Regions from separate parts of the Homo sapiens genome. Here region 2 is linked to region 1. The links are contacts of gene promoters, found by promoter capture Hi-C in blood cells and fetal thymus (Javierre and others, 2016). All regions are on one chromosome and are shown on one strand. Each heading gives the region's core, a stretch centred on a gene start or on the middle of the fragment in contact. The rest is flanking DNA. Distances are from core to core; before and after follow the strand shown. Region 1 holds the start of COQ3 (coenzyme Q3, methyltransferase). Region 2 overlaps ASCC3 (activating signal cointegrator 1 complex subunit 3).

Evidence for each region. The method cuts DNA at HindIII sites, captures the fragments that hold promoters and counts their contacts. A CHiCAGO score of 5 or more calls a contact.
Region 2: a contact is called between a fragment that was not itself captured here and the fragment with the promoter of COQ3 in region 1, in 1 of 17 cell types (activated CD4 T cells). The highest score is 6.3, in activated CD4 T cells.

What each region holds. Positions count from the first base shown.
Region 1 is chr6:99,391,583-99,398,188 of GRCh38, forward strand. It overlaps COQ3 (coenzyme Q3, methyltransferase), which reads right to left and starts at 2,613. Exons shown (of 7, transcript NM_017421.4): 1 at 2,492-2,613. The coding sequence starts at 2,597. It overlaps PNISR (PNN interacting serine and arginine rich protein), which reads right to left. Exons shown (of 12, transcript NM_032870.4): 12 at 6,468-6,606. RefSeq lists an enhancer at 1,869-2,508. The HindIII fragment of the contact is 4,880 bases long and covers 2,098-6,606 here.
Region 2 is chr6:100,661,955-100,668,560 of GRCh38, forward strand. It overlaps ASCC3 (activating signal cointegrator 1 complex subunit 3), which reads right to left. Exons shown (of 42, transcript NM_006828.4): 15 at 391-582; 16 at 1-76. Among named protein-coding and RNA genes, the nearest start is that of SIM1, 200 kb to the left of the region's middle. The HindIII fragment of the contact is 1,922 bases long and covers 2,189-4,110 here.

The DNA of each region.
Region 1 (6,606 bases), core at 1,363-3,862:
TAGAAATTTTAACAATATCTGCTTTTACGGACAGACAACCCTTGATCTCTCTCTTACCTCCTCTATTTCTGGAAAATGAATCCCTAAGTCATCAGTATTGCTACAATTCTCAAGAGGTTTAAAAATCATCTTAGGCCAGACGCAGTGGCTCAATGCCTGTAATCCCATCACTTTGGGAGACCAAGGTGGGCGGCCTGCTTGAGCCCAGGAGTTCAAGACCAGCCTGGACAATGTGGTGAAACCCCTTCTCTACTAAAAATATAAAAATTAGCCATGCATTGTGGTGCCTGCCTGTAGTCCCAGCTACTTGGGAGGCTGAGGTGGGAGGACCAATTGAGCCAGGGAGGCCAAGGCTGCCGTGAACTGTGGTCATGCCACTGCACTCTAACCTGGGATACAGAGCAAGACCTTTTCTCAAAAAAAAAAATTAATTAATCTAAAAAGTAAAAATAAAAACCACTCTACCACCTTACCACAACGGAAAGAGAGTAATTGAGTTTGTATTTAAACAGAATGCTACCAATTCCTTCTCTACCTTGAATCTGTGATCATCCTGGTATTTGAAATTTTAAAGGAATGGGAAAAGGTTTTTTTCATTTTATTTATTGAAAAGTCATTTATTCAGCACCTACCAGGCACCATGCTGATGGTGAATAAAACAGGTGACAGACTTTTACCCTACCAATACTTTATTTCCAGCAATGATAATTTACTGTCTGGATTGCTCTAAGGTCTTCCTGGGCCTAGACTTGCCTGACTCCATCCCACATTCTATGTAGACAGCTGCCAAGTGTTATTTCTTAAACATAAATCTGTTCATGTTGCTTCTTCAGTGATTTCCACTGTCCGCGGGATAGTCTACCTCAGGAGGTGTAAATGGCCTTTCATGAATGTGTCATGGCCAAAAAGGCCTCTTCCTCATCCCTTGCCACCCCCTGCCTTTACCTTCTGCCCTCCACCTACACACTTTACTTTTCAAGGAACCTTGCAGTTTCTCACAAACTTTCTCACAGATTCTCGAGCTGGTCCTTTCCCCTCTCCAACTGCTTTTTTTTTTTTTTGAGACAGAGTCTCACTCTGTTGCTCAGGCTGGAGTGCAATGGTGTGATCTTGGCTTACTGCAACCTCTGCCTCCCAGGTTCAAGCGATTCTCCTGCCTCAGCCTCCCGAGTAGCTGGGATTACAGGCGCCTGCCGCCACGCCCAGCTAATTTTGTATTTTTAGTAGATAGGGTTTCACCATGTTGGCCAGGCTGGTCTCGAACACTTGACCTCAAGTGAGCTGCCTGTCTCGACCAACTGCTTCTAAAACTGGCCACCTCCTTCAAGATTTCTCTAAATATCCCATTCAAGAAGTTTCCTTGATCCCAAATATGGATTAAATGCTCCTTCTATGTTCACCCCTCAAAAATTGGAACTAGGTTTATTATATCTTTTCTAAATTTTTGATTATAAAAGACACATGTTTACTAAAAAAAGTTCAGAAAAAGAAAAGTATATAAAGGATAAAATGATAGAAAATCACCTACTCTACCACAGGCAATCACTGCAAAATTTCTCTATATATCTCCACCTGTAACTCCAAGTTCACTATACATACTGATTTGTAACTTTTTTTTTTTTTTGGCTCCTTCCAGGAAACAATGAAACTTTACTTTCTTAACACTATATCTTACTACTTTTCCATGTGGGTACAAATAGATTTAAATCATTTTTATTGGCTGTACTATTTTTCACTGTATGATAGTACCAACTAATAACCTTTATTAATGGGCGGTTAGATTCCCCATTTTTTTGTTCATTATATCCTGATCTTAGGTTTATCCTAACATTTTTAAAGAGATCCTTGCGGTGTCATTCATTTTTAAATTCCCAGTGCTCATACCAGTGTCTGGCATACAGTATTTGTTAAGAGTTCCATGTGAAAGATGAGCTTAAGTTTCTACTTAATACTGAGAGTTCGAAAATCAGACTGCTGTCTACAAGCACTGAGCAGTGCATTATTTTCTTGATCTCATTTGCAAATGCAGTCTGTTGGATTAACCTATTAATCAAAAAGTAATACAGCTGCCTTAAATTCTTTCTGAAAAAAACAGCAAGCTTTGTGCAAACAAAACACAGATACAAAGCTATGCATAACTACGAGGCGTGAGTTATTCCTGCCCCGGCAAAGGAAAGATGCATGACCTTCAGACTGCAGCACACGCAGAGCGGGTCGCCGGCTCCTGGGGCAAGGAGCTCAGCCACAAGAGACCCGCGGCCTGCGCTTTTCCAGACAGGACCACTGGTCCTGAGCTCTTTTCCCCGGCGTCCGCCAACGGGACTATGCGAGGTTTACAATGGAGAGAGATGGGGCCAGGACCAAGCCTTAGGTTTCGCGCTGACCCCTCGCGAGGTCCAGAGACAACCCACCGCCCCACCCCCGGCGCATGCGCAGAGACGCCAGCGCTCGCAATTGACTGCATGCGAAGGACCTCCGCACACACACTCACCCGCCGAGGAAATTAAGGGACGCGCAGCTTTTGTATTACAGCCTCCAGGCCCCAGCACTCTTAAAAACCAACCCCCGGAGGAGCCCAGCTTACGGCCACTCCACATCGCGACAAACGATCCCACCTCTTTTCCGGTCCCTCCCGAAAAAAGATCCCCAACATAAAGGTTCCGAGATCACTTTCGCCGTCTGCAGCCGACTTTTTTTTTTTTTTTTTTTTTTAGCAGAGTCTGTTCTGTTGCCCAGGCTGGAGTACAGTCCCCATCTCGGATTCTGGGATCACTGCAATCTCCGCCGCCCGGGTTCAAGCGATTCTCCATGTTGGCTGGTCTCGAACTCCTGACCTCAGGTTATCCGCCCGCCTTGGCCTCCCAAAGGGCTGGGATTACAGGCGTGAGCCACCGCGCCCGGCCTGCAGCCGACTTTCATGATTGTATTGTTGAGTGTTATGTATGTATGGCTATACTTTCACGCTCATTTAGCAAATTGCACATGGAATTAAACTGCAAGATGTTTTTACTATCATAAACAACTTTGAAGATACTTTATTGCTATAGGACACCTCAAACCTCATGTTCGAAGTTGACCTCAATCAGGCCATTACTTCGTGCTGTGTCTTCTTTTATTGCCATGTAGCTCTATTTCACACTTAACAGATGTCTCTTCAAGGACTTTTATATTCCTGTAAGACATTGACCCTACTGCTAAGAATGCAAGAGTATGGGAGCACTTCTTCCTCAAGGGAAGAATTGTTTCCCCTTTCAAGGCACTCAAATATCAGATGGCCAGAAGGCCAAATGTAAAACTTATTTTCTGCAAATGACTATTATCTTGTACAGGGTATATACATCATGTAGTAGGAGGCTTCTGTGGCTCAGTCTAGGCAAACTTCATTTAGAGCTAGGAACAGTGATCAGTAACATTTTACGTCTAAATGCACAAAGTCTTTCTTTGGGTAAGAACAATGACGAATCTCCAACATTGAAGACAAAAAATTATTCTGTATTTTCAACAGGTAGGGTCAAATTGGTAAAGGGTTCTTTCAGTTAGCGAAATTTACCGCTCAGGAATCTTTTTTTTTCTTTTTTTTTTGAGACAGCCTCACTCGGTTGCTCAGGCTGGAGTGCAGTGGTAGGATCTCAGCTCATTGCAACCTCCGTCCCCCAGGCTCGGGTGATTCTTCGTGCCTCAGCCTCGTAAGTAGCTGGGATTACAGGTGTATGCTGCCATTCCCGGCTTAATTTTTGTATTTTCAGTCAGGGTTTCACCATGTTGGCCAGGCTGGTCTCAAGCTCCTGACCTCAGGTGATCTGCCTGCCTCAGCCTCCCAAAGTGCTGGGATTACAGGTGGGAGCCACCTCACCCAGACAGCAATAGTCTTTCATTCATGGTTCTTAGCTAAAATATTGACCTCCTCCTAAGGGTGGTCGCACTTTTCAGTTGCTATGTCCTCTTCAGAGCTCCTCTACCCTTAGATACATGATCCTCTCTCCACATGAAGGCAGAAAGCTCTGCACAAAAGAAAATGTAGCACGTCTTGTATTTATTGGAGTGACACATCCAAGGAAAAAGCAAAGTGCAAGCACAATTAAATAAAGTTCTAGGAGCTTTATATGTACTTTCTTTGAAGGTACCACACTTCACTGGGCTTCAGAGCCTTTCCACTACATTTTAACAAGAAGGGGAATCAATGATTTGCTTTATGCTGACAAGTATGTCTTTTGAACACCCAGAACAGGTCTGGCCCAAATAAGCAAAACTAGCTCATAGTATTTCTCGCTACAAACATCAACAAAGGGCTTTCCCAATGACCCTTAAGCCTAAGTGGTATTGGAAAGTTGTAATGGCTGTAATGCAGTATATGGCCATTGTTGGAGATATTTCCCCAGACTATTATTGTTATGGTCTCACCCGTAAGTCTGCGTATTTATTTTGCTCTAAAACTCTTAATGTCTGTTTTGTAATTCAACTTTATAAACATTTTTTTTTTCATCCAAGGGTAAAGTGCTCCCTTGTAGCTTTGAAATGATATACAGCTGGGCGTGGAGGCTGACACCTGTAATCCCAGCACCTTGGGAGGCTGAGGTGGGCGGATCACCTGAGGTCAGGAGTTCAAGACCAGCCTGGCCAACATGGTGAAACCCCATCTCTACTACAAAAAGTACAAAAACTAGCTGAGAGTGGTGATGGAATCCTGTAATCCCAGCTACTTGGGAGGTTGAGGCAGGAGAATCGCTTGAACAAGAGAGGTGGAGGTTGCAGTAAGCTGAGATCACGCCATTGCACTCTAGCCTGGGCAACAGAGCAAGACTGTGTCTCAAAAAAAAAAAAAAAAAAGAGATATACCACTACATCCACTCAGTTTAACTGGTAAGTTTTCACATTTACTTAAAAATTTTACATAAATTGGTAACTCAGAATAATTCTATCATAACTTCTACCAAAATCAGAATGTGGCAGATTTAACCAAGGTATCTTTAAAGGAACTCTATAGGTATCTGATAAACCTTTATGATATAAATATAACCCATGTGTGCTTTTTGAAGAGCTAAAGCCCATTTTCTCTTTTAAATTTTACACAACAAAATTCCACTTAAAACTGAAAAACTTAACAGCTAGATGTGTTTAGAACTAATCTAATTTGGCCAGGTGCGGTGGCATACACTTGCAATCCCAGCATGTTGGGAGGCCGAGGCAGGCGGATCACGAGGTCAAGACCATCCTGGCCAACATGAAACCCTGTCTCTATTAAAAATACGAAAATTAGCTGGGCATGTTGGCGCACACCTGTAGTCCCAGCTACTTGGGTGGCTGAGGCAGGAGAGTTGTCTGAACCTGGGAGGCGGAGGTTGCAGAGCCAAGATCATACCACTGCACTCCAGCCTGGTGACAGAGCGAGACTCCATCTCAAAAAAAAAAAAAAAAAAAATTCATCTAATTCCTCCCTTACACAGCTGAAGAAGTTAAGGCCCATGGTGATTTAGTGATTTGCCTAAAACACATCAAGAAACAGAGCCAGCTCAATCCAATGACTCTACTACTACTTCCATTTATGCAATCGGCTGGGAGCGGTGGCTCACGCCTGTAATCCCAGTACTTTGGGGGGCCAAGGCGGGTGGATCGCCTGAGGTCAGGAGTTCGAGACCAGCTGGCCAACATGGTGAAACCGTTTCTACTAAAAACACAAAAATTAGCCAGATGTGGTGGTGGGTGCTGTAATCCCAGCTACTCAGGAGGCTGAGGCAAGAGAATCACTTGAACCCAGGAGGCAGAGTTTGCAGTGAGCTGAGACTGCGCCACTACACTCCAGGCTGGGCAACAGAGAAAGACTCCATCTCAAAAAGCAAGAAACAGCAACTATGCAGTTGCTTAACTTGGGGACATGTGAGAAATGTGTCATTAGGTGATTTCATTGTGATGTGAACATCACAGAGTATACTTACATAAACCTAGATGGTATAGACTACTACACACCCAGGCTACATGGTATAGCCTTTTGCTCCTAGGCTACAAATACTATATTGAAAACTGTAGGCAACTGTAATATCATGGTTTTGTGTATTTAAACACAGAAAAGGTACAGTAAAAATACATTATAATCTTATGGGACCACTGTTGTACATGTGGCCCGTCATTGACTGAAACGTCGTTATGTGGTGTATGTCTGTACTCAGTACATTTTAGAAACTTCAGTAAATCAAAATACATTTAAATTTATGTAGGAGAAGAAAAACTCAGTTTAGATGTAAAGATTTCTGTAAGGCAACACTACAGAGACTGGAAACCTAATACAACTCCTATGTAAAAATTCCCAAATACAGTAAAAAATTCTTTACTATTACCTTTCATGTGTTTAAGGAAACAAAAAACTCAGGACACTTAAAAATAGACTGCGAAATTTACCTACTTGGTATTACACCACTAGAAACAGATGCTAAAAAGGTAATTTTATAGTGGCAGAAAACATATACACTAACGAGATTCCACACCAATTTTTATTTATATTTTGGGGCCTGAAACAAATCTTATAATCACCTCTTTCAAATTACATTTTATTCCCTTAATGGTGTGGTTTACCCCCACTCCACAAAAACAATTATGACTAATACACTAGAA
Region 2 (6,606 bases), core at 1,900-4,399, 1.3 Mb after region 1:
GACCAAATATCTGCATGACATCTAAAATTCCAAGGTCAACAAAGGAGCCTCTTTTTGCAGCATATATTTGTGTTCCCTAGATGAGGAAAAGTTAACAAAAATTTACATAAACACACACAAATATAATCCTGATGAACTGAATACTGAAATTAGGCAAATATGGCAAGATCTCAAAAGTGTACTTTAACTAATCCTTTCATCATCTGTGATAGAGTAAAATTTTCACAATATAAACTAGATTCTTATTGGAGAAAATAATTCTGACCTTTTATAAATAACATTCAAAGTCAAGGAAACAGCCAAATCACAATATTTTTCTATGTAAGTCAACCCAGAGCCTTGCTTTAAGACACACACAAAATCCATTTATCAAGGAAGGTAAGCTCTTACCTTAATAATAACAGCATGGGCGGGAAGATTGACACCCCAGGCTAACGTAGCTGTACACACTAGGACTTTGATATGCCCATTAGAAAACAAGTTTTCAACTAAATTTCTGTCCTGCCGAAGCATTCCTGCATGATGAATACTAAAACCATCTGGGAATAATTCTCGTACTTGCTTATTTCTCGACCTTTGTACCTAGATACCAAGAAAGCGTAAGAGTATTATTTAGCATTTAAAAGCAATTGTTTTTAGCATTTCTGTTGTATGAGTTCATCAAAGAAATCAGAAAATTATTTTTAAGCATCTTAAGGTATTACTAGGTCTTAGTATATAATGCTTTATATAAAATCATAAAAAATAATGTTACCTATCTTAAAAAATAGGTAATACCAAAATATATCACAAAATTCAAAAGGAAAGAGGTGAAAAGCAAGTGTCTCTTTCATCCAGATGTCCCTTTTTGCAATCAATCAGTATTACCTGTTTCTTAGCCTTCAAAATATACACTATTCAAAATAAAACTAAATCTCAGTGGCTTCTCAACTCCTTAAGAGTAAAGGCCAGAGTCATTACAATGCAAGACTATGGAAATCAATCTCATCCCCTTACCTCATCCACACTAGCCACAATGGCTGGCTTTTCTGAGTATATTTTCCAACAAGTCCATATCTGCTTCAGAGCCTTTACACTTTTACTTCAGACCCACTGCCTTTGAGGACTTCTCCCTTCTTATTGAGATCCCCATGATGCTTCCCCTATGATATTCCTCATTGCGATAAGTCAATAAACCCAGCTTTGTTCACCTACAGCTGTGTTCTTGGTGATCTTTGATAGCAAAGCATTGACCATCTGTTTTAGCTCCTCAACTATAGATGTGCATTGAGTATAGAGGAGTCCTTCCTTATCTGTAGTTTTGCTTTCTGTGGTTTCCATTACCTGAGGTCAACTGTGGTCCAAAAATATTAAGTAGAATATTCCAGAAATAAACAAATCATGTTTTAAGTTACATGCTCTTCTGAGTAGCATGATGAAATCTCACACTGTCCTATTCCATCCAGCCCAGAAAATGAATCGTCCCTTTGTCCAGCATATATAAGCTGTAGACATTTCTCACCCATTAGTCACTTAGTAGTAGGCTTGGTTATCAGATTGACTGTTTAAGTATCACAGTGTTTGCAAGTCACCCTTATTTTACTTAATAATGGCCCTGAAGCACAACATTAGTGATGCTGGCAACTTGAATTTGCCAGAGAGAAGCCATAAAGTGTTTCCTTTATGTGAAAAGGTGAAAGTTTTCAACTTAAGGGAATAAAAACGAAATTGTATGCTGAGGTTGCTAAAATCGATGGTAAGAGCAACAAATCTTCTAGTTGTGAAATTACAAAGAAGAAAACAGAAATTTGTGTTAGTTTTGCTGTTGCACCTCAAATTGCAAGTTACAGCTACAGTGTGATACATAGTTAAGATGAAAAAGGCTTTAAATTTGTGGGTGGAAGACACGAAAACAAAAACGCACTTAATTGACACCAATCAAGTTAGTTCACTAGTATCTGTGGTTTCATATCTTGGAAATATACCCCATGGATAAGGGGGGACTACTGTAATAATGTTACTTCTGGTTCTGTTCTTTGGCCTAATCTGAGCCCAGAGGTGAGATTTAGTATACTTATATGTCACCTGTGTAAGTGCTGTAGCAGAAGGTCTTAAAAGACTCACTGAAGATTCACTATACAATAGGCAGAATTTTTAAGAAAAATTAAAGACCTTAGATTAACATTTAAAGAAATGTTTATATAGTTAAAGCTTCTGTTTGGCCATCACATCATGTGTTTATTTGCTATTGGTCTCAAAATCTCATTATCAATTCATGAGCTTCTTTTTGAACAGTTTTTTCCCTACACTTTTTACTTAAGGGCTGGATAATGGCAGGGAGTAAGATTTCAGGGGACTGGGGTTCCATTCTAGACTTTGCCATACTGATTATCTCTCAGGTCACTTAAAATTTTAAACTTCTAAGTTAATAATATTTAACTAATAAAATTATCTAAGAAAATAGTATTCCATGAAATCTGCTTCAATTATAAAACCAAAAGTAATGCATTAACAAACCACACCATCTAGTGGCCAACCAAGTAAATAACAACTTACACATTTTGAGCCTCTTAAGGGTCCAAAACAAAATACATATATAAACATAACAAAAGAGGAGAGCTTCTTAAAGTTTCAAGGGGGGTGTATTCTTACTTTATTCTTATGCAGTGCAGTCAGCCTGTTAGAAATTATTTTATACATATACTTTAGGACTAATTACACTTGGATCTCATTGCCTCAGCTTTCATCTTTTCAGACAAGCAATATTGTTACTGTAATCTTAAAGCAGCTCTTATGAATATGGAAAAAAGTCCAATTGTGGTGTATTTGCTAAGAGCTCCTTCAGAGGCTAAAGGTAGGGAGAGGAGAAACATTTCACTTACTTCATTTCTTTTCTAATATTCAAGAGTGGATATTCAAAGCCAACAGAGGAAACTAAAACTATTGGTTGAAGGTGATATTCAAATCATATTGCTGGATTGCTGTTTGGTTTTAGGTTAAGTCTGCTTTCTGTGGGCTCCCTGCATTGAAATGTTCTGCTGTCCTTCTTACAAATAGATTCCTTAGTCAAACCCCATTTGAGGGAAGACATGGCTAGGACTGCTGTGGCACCAATGACACAGTAAGAAGTTAAACAAGGGAAGTATGTATCTGTGATAGAGATGTTTCTTATAAAGTAGCAGGTGGATCTTGGAGTACTGACATAGTACCTCCCACTTGATCACATGGGTTTCACATTCAACCAGCATCAGTGGCCAGTTTCACATTCAACCAGCGTCAGTGGCCACCAACTTGGTATATCTCTCTGGTCTCTGTGAGGAACTAGGAGGAGGTAGGAGTCACTTCTATTTCTATTCTTGCATACTCTGTGCATTTTTTTTATTGGTTCATTACAGACTTGAAGTGACAACAATCAAAGTAAGTCTGGGTTTTTTATTCTTAACTATCTTTGAATCTGAATTTTCCATCTGTGGTCTGCCTTAGCTCACAACAAAAATGAACTGGAATCTGGCCGGGCACAGTGGGTCATGCCTGTAATCCTAGCACTTTGGAAGGGTGAGGCAGGCAGATCACGAGGTCAGGAGATGAAGACCATCCTGGCTAACATGGTGAAACTCCGTCTCTACTAACAAAAACAAACAAACAAACAAAAAAAAAATAGCCGGGCATGGTGGCATGTGCCTGTAGTCCCAGTTACTCGGGAGGCTGAGGCAAGAGAATCACTTGAACCCAGGAGGTGGAGGCTGCAGTGAGCCGAGATCACATCACTGAACTCCAGCCTGGGCGACAGAGTGAGACTCTGTCTCAAAAAACAAAAAAAAAAGAAGAAAAAAAAATGAACTGGAATCCCTGGAGATGAGGCCCAGGGATGTTCCTCATGTGATTTTAAAAATCATCATAAAGCAAAACTATTTTTCCACTTTTAGTGTACACATCTAAGAATTTTAAGACATATTTGTGTTAGATTTGTGTAGCTACCATCATAATCAAGAGGAGTTTCTCCACCTTAAAAAAACCCCCTCATGCTATTTCTTTATAGTTAAACTCTTCGCAACTACTACCACTGTACTAATCTGTACTCCAACCCTATAGTTTTGTCTCTCCAAGACCACTATATAAATTGAGTCAGAAAGCTTATAAACTTTTGAAATTAGTTTCTGTCACCCAGATTAATGGCTTTGAGATTCATCTAAGTTGTTGCATATATCAATATCTCATTCCTTTTTATTGCTGAGTAGTATTCCACGGTACTACAGATGGGCACATTACAGTCTGTTAATCGGACCTCTCACTGAAGGACATGGGGGTTGTTTCCAGTTTTCACAATTATAAACAGAACATTTATAAACATTCATGTACACTTTTTTGTATATATTAATATGATTTCATTCCTCCAAAGTAAATACCAGGCATGAATCTTACGGGTCACATGGTTAATGTATGTTTACTTTTATAAAAATGCCAAAGCATTTCTGGAGAATTTTAACATTTTGCATTTGCATCAGCATTGTATAACAGTTCCAGTTGCTTCCCATACTTGCCAGCTTCCCATACATTATATAATTATTATTTTTTATTTTAGCAATTGTAACAGGTGTGTGGTAGTATCTTACCATGGTTTTAACATAAGTTTCCTTAACAGTTAATGATGTTAAACATCTTCCATGTTCTTGGATGTGCATATCTAATCAGCTCCTCAAGTGATTCTACTGCACACAAAAGTATAAGGAGCGAGTTTTTTACAGAAGGATATTTGCAATGATGTTTTTATCCACCTGTGTTATAATACAGCTGTACAATTTGACCTCATGAGACTATTTAGTGCTAAGCAACCTCGTATTTGTTATTGTACTAAATTATTTACATTCCTAAGAAGAGTACCTCCTAACAAATTTATGAAACATGATAGTCACTAACAGACAAAAAAAAAGCACTGTAAAGAATCAAAGAGAAGATCAATAAGAAACATGTATTTATCATATATTAGATCCTAGGAATTCAAAGAAATTTAAGACAAAATCTGAGCTTTGGATAATTTGCAGACTGGTAAGGAAGACAGACTCATATACAAGTGATTTCTATTAAATATAATGTGTTTATGATAGAGGTACAGGGACCAAGATGAAACTTTGTTATTTATGACATGATATTGTCATTTATGACAAAATTATGTCTTATTTACATTTGTATCGCTAACATTTGGCAGGGTGCCTTCTTCATACTGATACTACACATTCCCTGAATGAATGAATCAGTGATCTGATAGTTTGATCAAAGAAGTCTTTACAGAAAATGTGAAACGTGAGTCTTGAAGGACAAGGGATAAACTGCTAAATGGGGAAAGGTAGGCAGCAGGATATATAAGTACCTAAGCTGGGAATTATTAAAGAGCACACACAGTGTGTTTGGAGGGCATTCTGTTCAGAGGGTGTGGGGCAAAAATTAAGAAAATTAAGCTAGAAAAAAGGATTGGGGTCAGGCTTTACATTGTCTTGAACATAGGTGGAAAAGGAGCCAATTCAAGTTTTTAAGCAGTATCAGATTTGTTCTTTAGAGAGGTAACTTCACAGTTGTGCTAAGACCAGAGCAGGTATCGGCCACTACAGCAATCTGCAGAAGATGGAGGCAGGGGAAACAGAAATAACCAAACAAAGTCAAGGTTAAAGTTGGCTAGAAAGTAACCAAGACTGGATGACTGTCTAGAAAGGGGGATGAACATGACATAAAAGAAAAGGAGTTAGAATTGTTTCAAGCTAATCCTTATCTTGGTGCACTGAATATACGATAAGGTAAACAGAATGAGGAGAGTCAATGATTGCCTTTAACTTAGGTACTAAGAAGGTCAGGAGTAAATTATGTTTTGCGCATGAGTTTGAAGTGATCCATGGATAAAGACTTGGGCTTTTCTTCTAAATAAATGGAAAGCCACTGAAGATTTCTGAGAAGGAGAGAAATAAGGGAGACCAGTTAGGTAATCATTGGTAGAACCAATGATTTAAAGATTGTGAAATTGAGAAAAAAAATTAACACTCTTACCTTAAAAGAAAAAAATCAAACAAAAATAGACAGTGGCCATTACTGACTAGAGAAGGAGCTGGCAAAATATGTGCCAACTACCTGTTTTTGTACATAAAACTTATTGGAAAACAGCCATATCAATTTGTTACAGATTGTCTAAGGCTGCTTGAGCTACAACAGGAGGGCTGAATGAATAGTTGTGGGAGAGATCATATGTCTACAAGCTTAAAATGTTTACTACCTGGTCTTTAAGTAAAATAATCTGTATAGCTGTACACAAGTACAACAGCACAAGCACAAGACCCAATATCAGCAAAACGAAAATATCACAATTTGAAAGAATATGAAAGAAATATACTACAGTTTAAAAGAATCAGAAAAGAGCACTTTGTAAAATTCAGTGCATTTCACTTAAACTGTTTGGAATGGATGATTTTCTAGGAAAATATTGTTACTAATATTTAACCTAGAAGTGACAGAAAACTCTAAAATGATAAAAATAATGAAAGAAAATTTAAGAGTTAAATTTAACAGCTGGGCTTTCAAATTTTTAAAGATGAATTAATTCTAATGCTATTAAGAGACTCTAGAGGACAGAAACAGAACACT